2 separate regions of the Homo sapiens genome follow, and region 1 is linked to region 2. The links are contacts of gene promoters, found by promoter capture Hi-C in blood cells and fetal thymus (Javierre and others, 2016). All regions are on one chromosome and are shown on one strand. Each heading gives the region's core, a stretch centred on a gene start or on the middle of the fragment in contact. The rest is flanking DNA. Distances are from core to core; before and after follow the strand shown.

Region 1 (6,399 bases), core at 3,203-5,702, 100 kb after region 2:
TATTAAAAATACAAAAAATTAGCTGGGCATGGTGGTGGGCACCTGTAGTCCCAGCTACTCAGGAGGCTCAAGCAGGAGAATGGTATGAACACAGGAGGAAGAGCTTGCAGTGAGCTGAGATCGCACCACTGTACTCCAGCCTGGGTGACAGAGTGAGACTCTGTCTCAAAAAAAAAAAAAAAAGAGAGAGAGAGAGACAAAGAAGGCCATTACATAATGGTAAAGGAATCAATTCAAAAAGAAGAGCTAACTATCCTAAATATATATGCACCCAAAACAGGAGCACCCAGATTCATATAATGAGTCCTTACAGACCTACGAAGAGACTTATACTCCCACACAATAATAATGGGAGACTTTAACATTCCATTGTCAATATTAGGCAGATCAACAAGACAGAAGGTTAACAAGGATATCCAGGACTTGAACTCAGCTCTGCACCAAGCAGACCTAATAGACATCTACGGTACTCTCTACCCCAAATCAACAGAGTATATATTCTTCTCAGCACCACATCATACTTATTCTAAAATTGACCACAAAATTGGAAGTAAAGCACTCCTCAGCAAATGTAAAAAGAAAAGAAATCACAACAAACTGTCTCTCGGACCACAGTGCAATCAAATTAGAACTCAGGATTAAGAAACTCACTCAAAACCACACAACTACATGGAAACTGTAGTCCTGAATGACTACTTGGTAAATAACAAAATGAAGGCAGAAATAAAGATGCTCTAGGAAACCAATGAGAACAAAGACACAATGTACCAGAATCTCTGGGACACATGTAAAGCAGTGTGTAGAGGGAAATTTATAGCACTAAATGCCCACAAGATAAAGCAGGAAAGATCTAAAATTGACACCTAACATCACATTAAAAGAACTAGAGAAGCAAGAGCAAACATATTCAAAAGCTAGCCGAAGACAAGAAATAACTAAGATCAGAGCAGACCTGAATGAGATAAAGACACAAAAAAAATCTTCAAAAGATCAATGAATCCAGGACCTGGCTTTTTGAAAAGATCAGCAAAATTGATAGACCACTAGCAAGACTAATAAAGAAGAAAAGAGAGAAGAATCATATAGACACAATAAAAAATGATAAAGGGGATATCACCACTGATCCCACAAAAATACAAACTACCATCAGAGGATAATATAAACATCTCTGTGCAAATAAACTAGAAAATCTAGAAGAAATGGATAAATTCCTCGACACACACACCCTCCCAAGAGTAAACCAGGAAGAAGTTGAATCTCTGAATAGACCAATAACAGGCTCTGAAATTGAGGCAATAATTAATAGCCTGCCAACCAAAAAAAGTCCAGGACCAGATGGATTCACAGACAAATTCTACTAAAGGTACAAAGAGGAGCTGGTACCATTCCTTCTGAAACTATTCCAATCAATAGAAAAAGAGGGAATCCTCCCTTACTCATTTTTTGAGGCCAGCATAATCCTGATGCTGAGAGTTTTAGACCAATGTCCCCGATGAACACTGATGCAAAATCCTCAGTAAAATACTGGCAAACAAAATCCAGCAGCACATCAAAAAGCTTATCCACCATGATCAAATCAGCTTCATCCCTGGGATGCAAGGCTGGTTCAACATATGCAAATCAATAAATGTAATCCATCACATAAACAGAACTAAAGAAAAAAACCACATCATTATCTCAATAGATGCAGAAAAGGCCTTTGACAAAATTCAACAGCTGTTCATGCTAAAAAACTCCCAATACACTAGATATTGATGGAACATATCTCAAAATACTAAGACCTATTTATGACAAACCCACAGCCAATATCATACTGAATGGGCAAAACTGGAAGCATTCCCTTTGAAAACTGGCACAAGACAAGGATGCCCTCTCTCACCACTCCTATTCAACATAGTATTGGAAGTCTGGCCAGGGCAATCAGGCAAGAGAAAGAAATAAAGGGTATTTAATTAGGAACAGAGGAAGTCAAATTGTCCCTGTTTGCAGATGACATGATTGTATATTTAGAAAACCCCATCACCTCAGCCCAAAATCTCTTTAAACTGATAAGCAACTTCAGCAAAGTCTCAGGATACAAAATCAACGTGCAAAAATCGCAAGCTTTCCTACACACCAATAACAGACAAACAGAGAGCCAAATCATGAGTGAACTCCCATTCACAATCGCTTCAAAGAGAATAAAATACCTAGGAATCCAACTTACAAGGGATGTGAAGGACCTCTTCAAGGAGAACTACAAACCACTGCTCAATGAAATAAAAGAGGACACAAACAAATGGAAGAACATTCCATGCTCATCGATAGGAAGAATCAATATCGTGAAAATGGCCATACTGCCCAAAGTAATTTATAAATTCAATGCCATCCCTATCAAGCTACCAATGACTTTCTTCACAGAATTGGAAAAACTACCTGATCTTTCATATGAAATCAAAAAGAGCCCACATTGCCAAGACAATCCTAAGCAAAAGGAACAAAGCTGGAGGCATGGGAAGAATGTATATTCTTTTGGTTTTGGGTGGAGCGTTCTGTCAATGTTTATTAGGTCCATTTGGTCAAGTGTCGAGTTTAAGTTCCAAATACCTTTATCAGTGTTCTCTCTTGATGATCTATCTAATGCTGTCAGTTGGGTGTTGAAGTCTACCACCATTATTGTATGATAACATAAGCTTCTTTGTGGGTCTCTAAGTACTTGTTTTATGAACCTGTGTGCTCCTGTGTTGGGTGCATATATATTGAGGATAGCTAAGTCTTCTTATTAAATTCAACCCTCTATCATTAAATAATGTTTTTCTATGTCCTTTTTGACAGTTGTTGGTTTAAAGTTTATTTTGTCTGAAATAAAAATAGCAACCCCTGCTCTTTTTTCTTTCCTGTATGCTTGACAGATTTTTTGCCATCCTTTAGTTTTGGCCTATGGGTGTCCTTGCATGTGAGATGGGTCTCTTGAAGATAACTTACAGGTGGGTCTTGTTTATTTTTTTTTTTTTTGTCTTTTTTAACGTGAGACAGGGTCTCACTCTGTTACTTAGGCCGAAGTGCAGTGGCATGATCACAACTTACTGCAGCCTCCACCTCCCCAGGCTTGGGTGATCCTCCTACCTCAGCCTCCTCAGTAGCTGGGACTACAGGCATGTGCCACCATTCTTAGCTAATTTTCTTGGTTTTTTTGTAGAAATGGGGTTTTTCCATGTTGCCTAGGTTGGTCTCAAACTCATAGGATCAAGCAATCGGCCTGCCTTAGCCTCAAAGTGTTAGGATTACAGGCATGAGCCAGGGTCTTGTTTCTTTATTCAACTTGCCACTCTGTGTCTTGGGGTGTTTAGCTCATTTACCTTCAAGGTAAATATTGATAAGTGAGAAGTTGATTTTGTCATTATTGTTAGCTGGTTGTTATGTAGACTTAATTGTGTAGTTCCTTTATAGTGTCACTGGTCTGTTTACTTAAGTGCATTTATGTGGTGGCTGGTAAGAGTCTTTTATTTCCATGTTTAGCACTCCCTTAATGACTTCTTATAAGGCAGGTCTGGTGGTAATAAATTTCCTTAGCATTTGCTTTGCTGAATTTCTCTTTAACATATAAATCTTACTTGGGCTGGATATGAAATTTTGGGTCAGAATTTCTTTTCTTTAACAATGCTGAATATAGGCCCTCAATGTCTTCTGGCTTCTAAGGTTTCTGCTGAAAGGTATGCTGTTAGCTTGATTGGGGTCCCTTTGTAGGTGACCTGCTCCTCCTCTCTGGTTGCCTTTAGTATTTTTTTCTTTCACATTGACCTTGGATAATCTTATTATTGTGTATCTTGAGGATGGTTTTCTAGTGTAGTATCTCTCAGGAGTTCTCTGAATTTCTTGAATTTGAATGTTGACCTCTATAGTGAAGTTGAGAAAATTGTCATGGACAATATCCTCATATATGTTTTCAATTGTTTGCACACTCTCTCTCTCTCTCTTTCAGGGACATCAGTGAGTACAGGTTTGGTCTCTTTACATAACCTCATATTTCTCAGAGATTTTGTTCATCCTTCTGTATTATTTTTTCTTTATTTTGTGTGACTGAGTTAATTAGAAGAACTGGTCTTTGAGCTCTGAGATTCTTCCCTCAGTGTGGTCTATTCTGCCTTTAATACTTCCAATTGTATTATAAAATTCTTTAGTGAATTTTTTAGCTCTGTCAAATCAGCTTAGTTCTTTCTTAAAATGGCTATTTTGTCTTTCAGTTATTGTATTATTTTACTGGATTCCTTAAATTCTTTGGATTCCATTTCAACTTTCTCCTGAATCTCATGATTTTCATTGCCATCCAGATTCTAAAATCTATGTCTATTATCTCAGCCATTTTAGTCTGGTTAGGAAAGATTGTTGGGGAGCTAGTGTGTTCATTTGGAAGTAAGAAGACACTCTGACTTTTAGAGCTGCCTGAGTTCTTCCACGGGTTCTTTCTCATCTATGTGGGCTGATGTTCCTTAAACGTTTAAAGTTGCTGTCCTTTTGATGGGGCCTTTTGCTTTTATATTCTTTGATGCCCTTGAGGCTTTGACTATGGTATAGGTTTGGGTCAGTGAGCTAGCTTTATTTCTTGATGATTTCAGGGGGCCATGGCTCAGCTCAGCACTCCTGGGCTATATGCTCTAAGACTGAGGGCCTGGGACCAGGCCCAGAACCTTGTTCTTTGGCCCCTTGAGACTGAGCACCTGCTTCACTGGAGGGGGCCAAGGTGCTCCCAGTCCACTAGCAACAACACTCCTATGGTGGGCAGGGTGGGGGGGTCCCAGAAAAGCATTTCATAAGGGCAGTGGCGGTGGGGGTCTGCTCTCACATGCATGTACTGGCAGCAGTGGGGCAGTGGCATGGTGGGGTCCACACTCACTCACATGCTGGTGGTGGTGGGGCAGCAGGGTAGAAGGTCCATGCACATGTACACCAGGGATGGTAGTGTGGCAGGGTACATGCACGCATGTAGGCTAGTGGGGACAGTGCAGCAGTGGTGAGGTCTCCATGCATATGTGCACAGAAGTGGTAGCAAGGCAGTGATGTCTGTGTATGTATGCCAGCAAAGCAGTTGTGGGTGCTGAAGGCAGGTGCATGCTGATGTGAGGCCAGTGACAGAAGCTATTTGGTGGTTTGGTGGGGTCAGCCAGTGAAAGACCTATGGCAGTGGTCTCTGAGAACTGCCTCAGTTGAACATCTGAGGCTGTGCTGCAAGCAGGTACAGACAGGCAGGGATCCTGGGAGAGGCCAGCAGACATGGGGTGGGGGGCTCAGATCAGTCTAGCCCCATCCAAATATCATGGTAGCCCTATTCTGTCCAGGTCTGATAGTCAACAAAGGGGTCAAAGCCACCTAGAGGAGCATGCCAATCCTCGGGTAATGGACATCCCTAACCATGCTCCACTGTAGCTGTTCTCACACCAAACCCTCTGGGTTCCATAGAAGCTGGAGTCCTGTCCCTGCCAACTCTGCAAGTAGCTTTCCCTGCCAACTCAAATGTCTGTGTGGGTCGTGGGGGTCTCCTGCAGCTAGGATTCCAGAGGTTCATGGATAGAGTGGGCCACTTCATGCCTATTTAACCAACCCCTTCCCTAGAAGCCACTGAGGACCAAGAATAAGTCCTAGTGTTTGGCAACCCTGTGTAGGGTTCGCAGCTTCTTCCCCCCTTCAGCCCAGGGTCTGCATTCTCCCTCCATCCACTCTCAATGCCTTCTTTCCAATGATCTTCTCAGAGTATACTGCTCTTCTTGATGGTCTTGTCTCTTGGTGGGAGAAGCTCTTCCTGGCTGCATCTAGTCAGCCATCTTGTCTCTTCTCCCAAAAATAAGTTTAATTTTATATATTTTTGGCTTTATTTCCCAGTTTCCTGGGTGTCCTAGAATCCTCTCTATTGATCTCTCTGTATCTGCAGGTCACAGGGTGACTAAGGGTGCAGGAGAGTCACCTAGGGCCTCCTGGTGCCAAGGAAATGAGCAATGGAAGCAGGACCCAAGCTGGGTGAGTGGGCACAAGGAGACAAAGGCCCTGCCAGATCTGGGAAGCCACCTCCTCCTCCAAAAAAAGTTATATTCATACATGGAATTCTATTCAGCAATGAAAAGGAATGGTTACTAATACACTGAGCAGCATGGATTACTTACAACCATATGCTAAACTGAAGAAAAATAAAAGGCAATACCAAGTAGATATGTTTATTTCCATCTTAATAAAATCATAGAAAATACAAGTTTAAGCTTAAGTGACATAAAGTATATCAGTAGTTGCAAGAATGCCAGGTTGTTGGTGTGCTTGACTACAAACAGGTATGAGGGGTTATGACATTTAATATCTTGATTGTGATTTTGTTTACATGGGCTTATATAATTATCAAAATAAATAGAACTGTACACTTAAAGATTCAAATTT
Region 2 (6,045 bases), core at 561-3,060:
TTAAAAAAAGTTATTCCTGCATGTGAGAAGCTTATAATCTATAAAGAGTGCCAAATATATAAAGAGGTATGTTCAATGCAACATGTTAAATGCAAGGATGAGGATGTTCATGGGTTACTCTGCCCAGGAGAGGGCACTTAGTACACTTGCCTTACCCGTGAGATAGCGACAGACACTTTTGCTATCTACCAGGATGTTAGAGTCAAAATGAAGTAGCTTACATGAAAGCATCTTATTTTCCGCAAGGTCTGAAACAAAGGAAAAAGCTGTTGTAGCAGGTGTGTGGAACTACCTAAGCAAATAAACCACAACAGAGATGATGAACAATGAACAAACTCAAGTGTGTCATGTCAAACAACTCCTAACATCTTATAGCCATTAAAGTAGCCAACAAGTTGGGAGATGTTGAGTTGTGCAAATATTACATCTGGTTTCTCCTGAATCTCTGAAGCTGATTCTGAAAGTAAAAATGATTAGGGCTCTGGGAGGAGGAATAACCTAGACTATAAAATAATGGGAAGTTCCTGAGATAGGCTCTTCTCTTTCCATTTAGCACTTTCTGGCTATTTTATTTGCAAGAGATTCAAGGTGTGTTCACGTTATTTCCTCTCCTTTCTTCAATAGAGAGAAGACTTAACCTAAGTCTTCCTGCTCCACCCCTATCCCTAGTGATCATCAATCTATTTTGTTTCATAGACAGATACATCATAACCTTGTGACCCAGGTTTTACACTTGGGTCCCTTCACAGTTCCAGAAACATACAGAACAAATGTCATAGAATCATGAAAGAGAATTCAAAGGCTATAGACTCCTTAGATAAAAAAGGGCAGATTTATTAAAGAACCCTGATTTAATCATCCCACAATGTATACATGTATCCAAACATCACATAATACCCCATAAATAGGTATAATTATTAGTTGCTAATAAAAAATAAATTAAAAAGAAAATAATTTTTAATGTAAAAGTAACAGTTCTTTCTTTAACTGTGCATATTTAAATTTTTGCTCAATTTTAAAAAAAGAATCTCAAGGATAAGAACACTTGAGTCAAATGCAGGGAAACTCTGTCCTGATTTAAGGATCCAGGCTCTTCTAGTGTTCAAATATCAAACCAGGATATTTGCCTCTCAACTCCTTAACTGCATAAGCAGCTGACACATAGATTGGAGTTACTATGTGTTAAGTGCTGTTTCAAGTACTTTACTGATACCATCTAAGTTCTTACAACAATCCTATATAATATGTTCTATTATTATTTATGTCTTACAAATGACAAAAATTGTCACACTGAAGTTCATAGCTCTAAGTGGCAAAGGCAAGTTTCAAACTCTAGCATTCTTGTTCCTGAGTTCATGCTCTGAGGCACAGTGTTTTAATGCCTTTACAATAATGCTAATTAAATGGATTGTGATATTAGGAAAAGAAACCAAATTACTAGGATAGAATATACATCCAAGGACCAAATACATACAGTACAAGAAAAATAATTTAAATTTTCTATTCCATATTAAAGGTAATGTTCTTCTTAAACTGAGAGAATTTTTTCACTTTGTCAAATAGTTGGATCCTTTTAACTTTGGGGTATTTATATACTGTAGATAATCATTTCTCTGTTACTTCAGATTAATAATTTTTTGGAAAAATCATTAAAGAGGCATCTATATCTAGATAGACTAAGAGAAAGAGATGTTAACATTATGAATCTGACAATATACTTAAAGTGAAGGCGTTGGGAAAATGTTCGTATTACAAAGATAGTTATCATTTTGTCTCTTTCAAACACATTCACAGAAAGAAGTTCTTCAGATGCGAGGTTTCAACAAAACCACTGTGGTTACACAGTTCATCCTGGTGGGTTTCTCCAGCCTGGGGGAGCTCCAGCTGCTGCTTTTTGTCATCTTTCTTCTCCTATACTTGACAATCCTGGTGGCCAATGTGACCATCATGGCCGTTATTCGCTTCAGCTGGACTCTCCACACTCCCATGTATGGCTTTCTATTCATCCTTTCATTTTCTGAGTCCTGCTACACTTTTGTCATCATCCCTCAGCTGCTGGTCCACCTGCTCTCAGACACCAAGACCATCTCCTTCATGGCCTGTGCCACCCAGCTGTTCTTTTTCCTTGGCTTTGCTTGCACCAACTGCCTCCTCATTGCTGTGATGGGATATGATCGCTATGTAGCAATTTGTCACCCTCTGAGGTACACACTCATCATAAACAAAAGGCTGGGGTTGGAGTTGATTTCTCTCTCAGGAGCCACAGGTTTCTTTATTGCTTTGGTGGCCACCAACCTCATTTGTGACATGCGTTTTTGTGGCCCCAACAGGGTTAACCACTATTTCTGTGACATGGCACCTGTTATCAAGTTAGCCTGCACTGACACCCATGTGAAAGAGCTGGCTTTATTTAGCCTCAGCATCCTGGTAATTATGGTGCCTTTTCTGTTAATTCTCATATCCTATGGCTTCATAGTTAACACCATCCTGAAGATCCCCTCAGCTGAGGGCAAGAAGGCCTTTGTCACCTGTGCCTCACATCTCACTGTGGTCTTTGTCCACTATGGCTGTGCCTCTATCATCTATCTGCGGCCCAAGTCCAAGTCTGCCTCAGACAAGGATCAGTTGGTGGCAGTGACCTACACAGTGGTTACTCCCTTACTTAATCCTCTTGTCTACAGTCTGAGGAACAAAGAGGTAAAAACTGCATTGAAAAGAGTTCTTGGAATGCCTGTGGCAACCAAGATGAGCTAACAAAAAATAATAATAAAATTAACTAGGATAGTCACAGAAGAAATCAAAGGCATAAAATTTTCTGACCTTTAATGCATGTCTCAGACAGTGTTTCCAAGGATTAAGACTACTCTTGCCTTTTTATTTTCTCCTATTCCAAAAAGAAAAAAAATGCAAGTCAATCTACACTCTATATTGTCCGATGTCTAGTTAAAAAAAAAGAATTCACACTTGGCAAAAAGAGAAAAGCATGAGAGTTTTTCAAGGAAAGACACAACCAAAACAAATATAAGGACAAGAATTGCTTTTCCAGTTGGAGAGACAGAACAGAGTCTGAAGTGGCTGGAAGCATTTTTATCCGGGACACAGGCATTCATCTAGTAATACATTCATCTGTGTACCAAGTCCCATTCAAAGAGGAAAAATTAAAATGAACAAATGTATAGTTTATGGTGGTTGGGACTGGTTAGGTGAAAAGATGAACACTGAAAAAAATATGATAATGCAAGATAATCAGATCAGTTAAAAGAATATAAATAAAAGTTATGAGAATCAAAGGAATGAGTATTTATTCCATCTGAAAGAGAAAAAGATTTAGAATAAGTGGGATGAAAAGAAGGGAGAGAAAATTTAAACTGGGCCTTAAATGGAGAACAAGATATTAATACTAAGAAACTGGGTTTTACAGTGACAAAAATGTTAGTCGATATTATCAGAATTGTTGATAATTCTAGATTTTTATTATGTTAATCATAAGTTAAACATTATTTTTATTTATAGTTCTTGTTTTGTTTTCACTTAGCTATATGTTTAAGTCTTTCAGATCATGTAATTTTATTTAATAATAGACTAAAAATAAACAATAATGACATCCTCATGCTTGATGATCAAATAGAACACAGTGCTCTGAAGAGGCAAAAATGGCCATAATCTCTATGATGATCATAGTGTAATATTTATAAGAACCTAACATTTTATTGATTACAATAATATAATTTGAATTATAAACACTGATCAGGATTGATTTTAAATCTAAACTATCATTTTCAAGCTACATAGTTTAAGAAATGTTATTTAAAATATTAAAACCGATAAGCCTTGAATTTTTTCATCTGGACAACTAAGATTTCTTTTTGAGTAAATATGTGAACTATCTCATTCTCACAGTGCTTGGATTCTAGTTGAGGAAGTCAATTACTGTTAATGAGATCCTTGTTCTGCCCAGAGACTAATCCATACTAGAATTAAAATGTGCTGATTTGTTAAAATTATGTTACATCTCACAAATGAAAAGCTGAAATATCATTATTTGTATGACTGTAAAAATTACATGTAAATTTCTTTTGAGACAGGGTTTCACTCCCGTCACCCAGGCTGGAGTGCAGTGGCTCCATCTTGGCTCACTGCAGCCTCCACCTCCCGGATTCAAGCTATTCTCGAGCTTCAGCCTCCCGAGTAGCTGGGACCACAGGCGCCCACCACCATGCCCGGCTAATTTTTGTATTTTTTGTAGAGACGGGGTTTCACCATGTTGGCTAGGCTGGTTTCAAACTCCTGTCCTCAAGAGATCTGCCTGCCTCACCCTCTCCAAGCGCTGGAATTACAGGAGTGAGCCACCGCCCCTGGCCAAAATATTTTTATATAACAAACTAAACAGCATGCTCTCTTCCCTCTGTAAAGCACCCTGACTGATTTTCATGGCACAATGAACACTTAATGTTTAACAGATTACTTTCCATTGTGCCTGCATATTTCTGCCCCTACAAGTTGGGGTGGGGGTTGGGGGTTGTGCTCAAAACCACTTCTAACAGTTGTATTTATTATTCTATTTATTCTACTTGGAAAATGTAATTTTGTACTATGTAAACTAATAAAGTATGATTGCAAAAAAATCATCTGTTTTTAATACAGCCAGGTGAGTATTTTGGAAAGACTAAATATGAGGAAGAAAATAAAATCAAAAATTCTAGAAGTCTTATTCATTTGGATTTGCAAGTGTCTCTAAGTTGCTGCTTATATTTAAATTCACCAAAATGAATGTAATGCATTATGAGTGGGCTTATGCTAGAGGTACTCTGAAGAACTCTGATCAAGTAGTCTAACACTCAAAGTAAAAGCTTTATCCTTACATGAATATACTCACAAATATATGCATTTTAAGTGGTTCGAGTTAAAATAAAACATTTTAGTATATGAGTCATCTTTTTTATTTTCAACTCTGTCGGACTTTGGATTAATCAACCAATTACCTGGTCCTGTTGGGCAGATGTGAGGATTCTATTGTTTATTTTTAACTATGTAAAAAAGTATCTTTCTATAGATGAGAATAGAAATGTAACATGCAAAAGGAAGTGTGCTGATATTGTGGGTGTATGGTTTATTAGTTTTCATTTAAAACTAAGTCCATATGATTTTATAAACTGTTCTACAATTTAAGAAAGATGTGTATGCAGTTACAACTCTTGTTTGTCCAAGTTATTCCTCAACCCCCCAGATGCCTTGTTAGCAAGAAATTCACTATTTCCTTCTCGAGGCGTTCTATCCTGAATTTTTTGGAAACCCTGTGGATTTACACATTTAAAAGGGGAATCAGAGTGGTTTCCATACCAAAGACAAGAGACAGCTGGTTCACTATGTGCTGCTGTCCCCCCTGCCATCCACAGTATCATCAGTAGGATTGTTCCTACATGGCTGACAGGCAGTGCTGGTTTTCTCACTCATCACAATGGGCTTCCCAACAGGCATGGTTCTTTGAGGGATATTAATTTCTCCCAGGTAAATTAAGACTCTCTCACACTTGTTCTCTCCAGGTTTCAACTATGCCCCCCTTTAATTCCCATTCACAATTCTGTATGAACCACCAGCTTTCCTCAGGAACACTGAGTCAGAATTTGTTCTGTTGTGTAAGCACTTCAGACCCCAAGTTTCCATCACTCTTTTCTCCATGGGGATAAGTGTCTACTACACAAGAGCTGCTCCTTTCAAACACTCAGAAGACAATCTGATCATAACATTATGTGTACATGTATCAAAACATTACACTGTATCCACTAAATATGTACAAGAAAAAAGTTGAAAGATCTAATTACCCTTTTTCTTCCCCAAAACAATGGGACAAATCACTTGTAAGGCAAATATACACTTGCAACTTTAGGGTCTCCCCTATATACCTTTTCAAGTGTGTCTACCTACCTGTGAAAATTGCTTCTGGTGATTTGAAGGTGGTTTTCTCACTAGAAAAATGGAAAAATTAAAGAAAAAAAATTTGAAATTAGGACTGACAGTATACTTCCTCTAGCAGGGTATTCCATA

Evidence for each region. The method cuts DNA at HindIII sites, captures the fragments that hold promoters and counts their contacts. A CHiCAGO score of 5 or more calls a contact.
Region 1: a contact is called between a fragment that was not itself captured here and the fragment with the promoter of OR10T2 in region 2, in 1 of 17 cell types (fetal thymus). The highest score is 8.0, in fetal thymus.

Annotation. Positions count from the first base shown.
Region 1 is chr1:158,294,545-158,300,943 of GRCh38, reverse strand. It overlaps CD1C (CD1c molecule), which reads right to left. Exons shown (of 6, transcript NM_001765.3): 6 at 6,170-6,399. It also overlaps a transcript of CD1B not described here. Among named protein-coding and RNA genes, the nearest start is that of CD1C, 7.8 kb to the right of the region's middle. The HindIII fragment of the contact is 3,555 bases long and covers 2,675-6,229 here.
Region 2 is chr1:158,395,231-158,401,275 of GRCh38, reverse strand. OR10T2 (olfactory receptor family 10 subfamily T member 2) reads left to right here and starts at 1,810. Exons shown (of 1, transcript NM_001004475.1): 1 at 1,810-2,754. The coding sequence starts at 1,810. The coding sequence ends at 2,754. The HindIII fragment of the contact is 4,820 bases long and covers 33-4,852 here.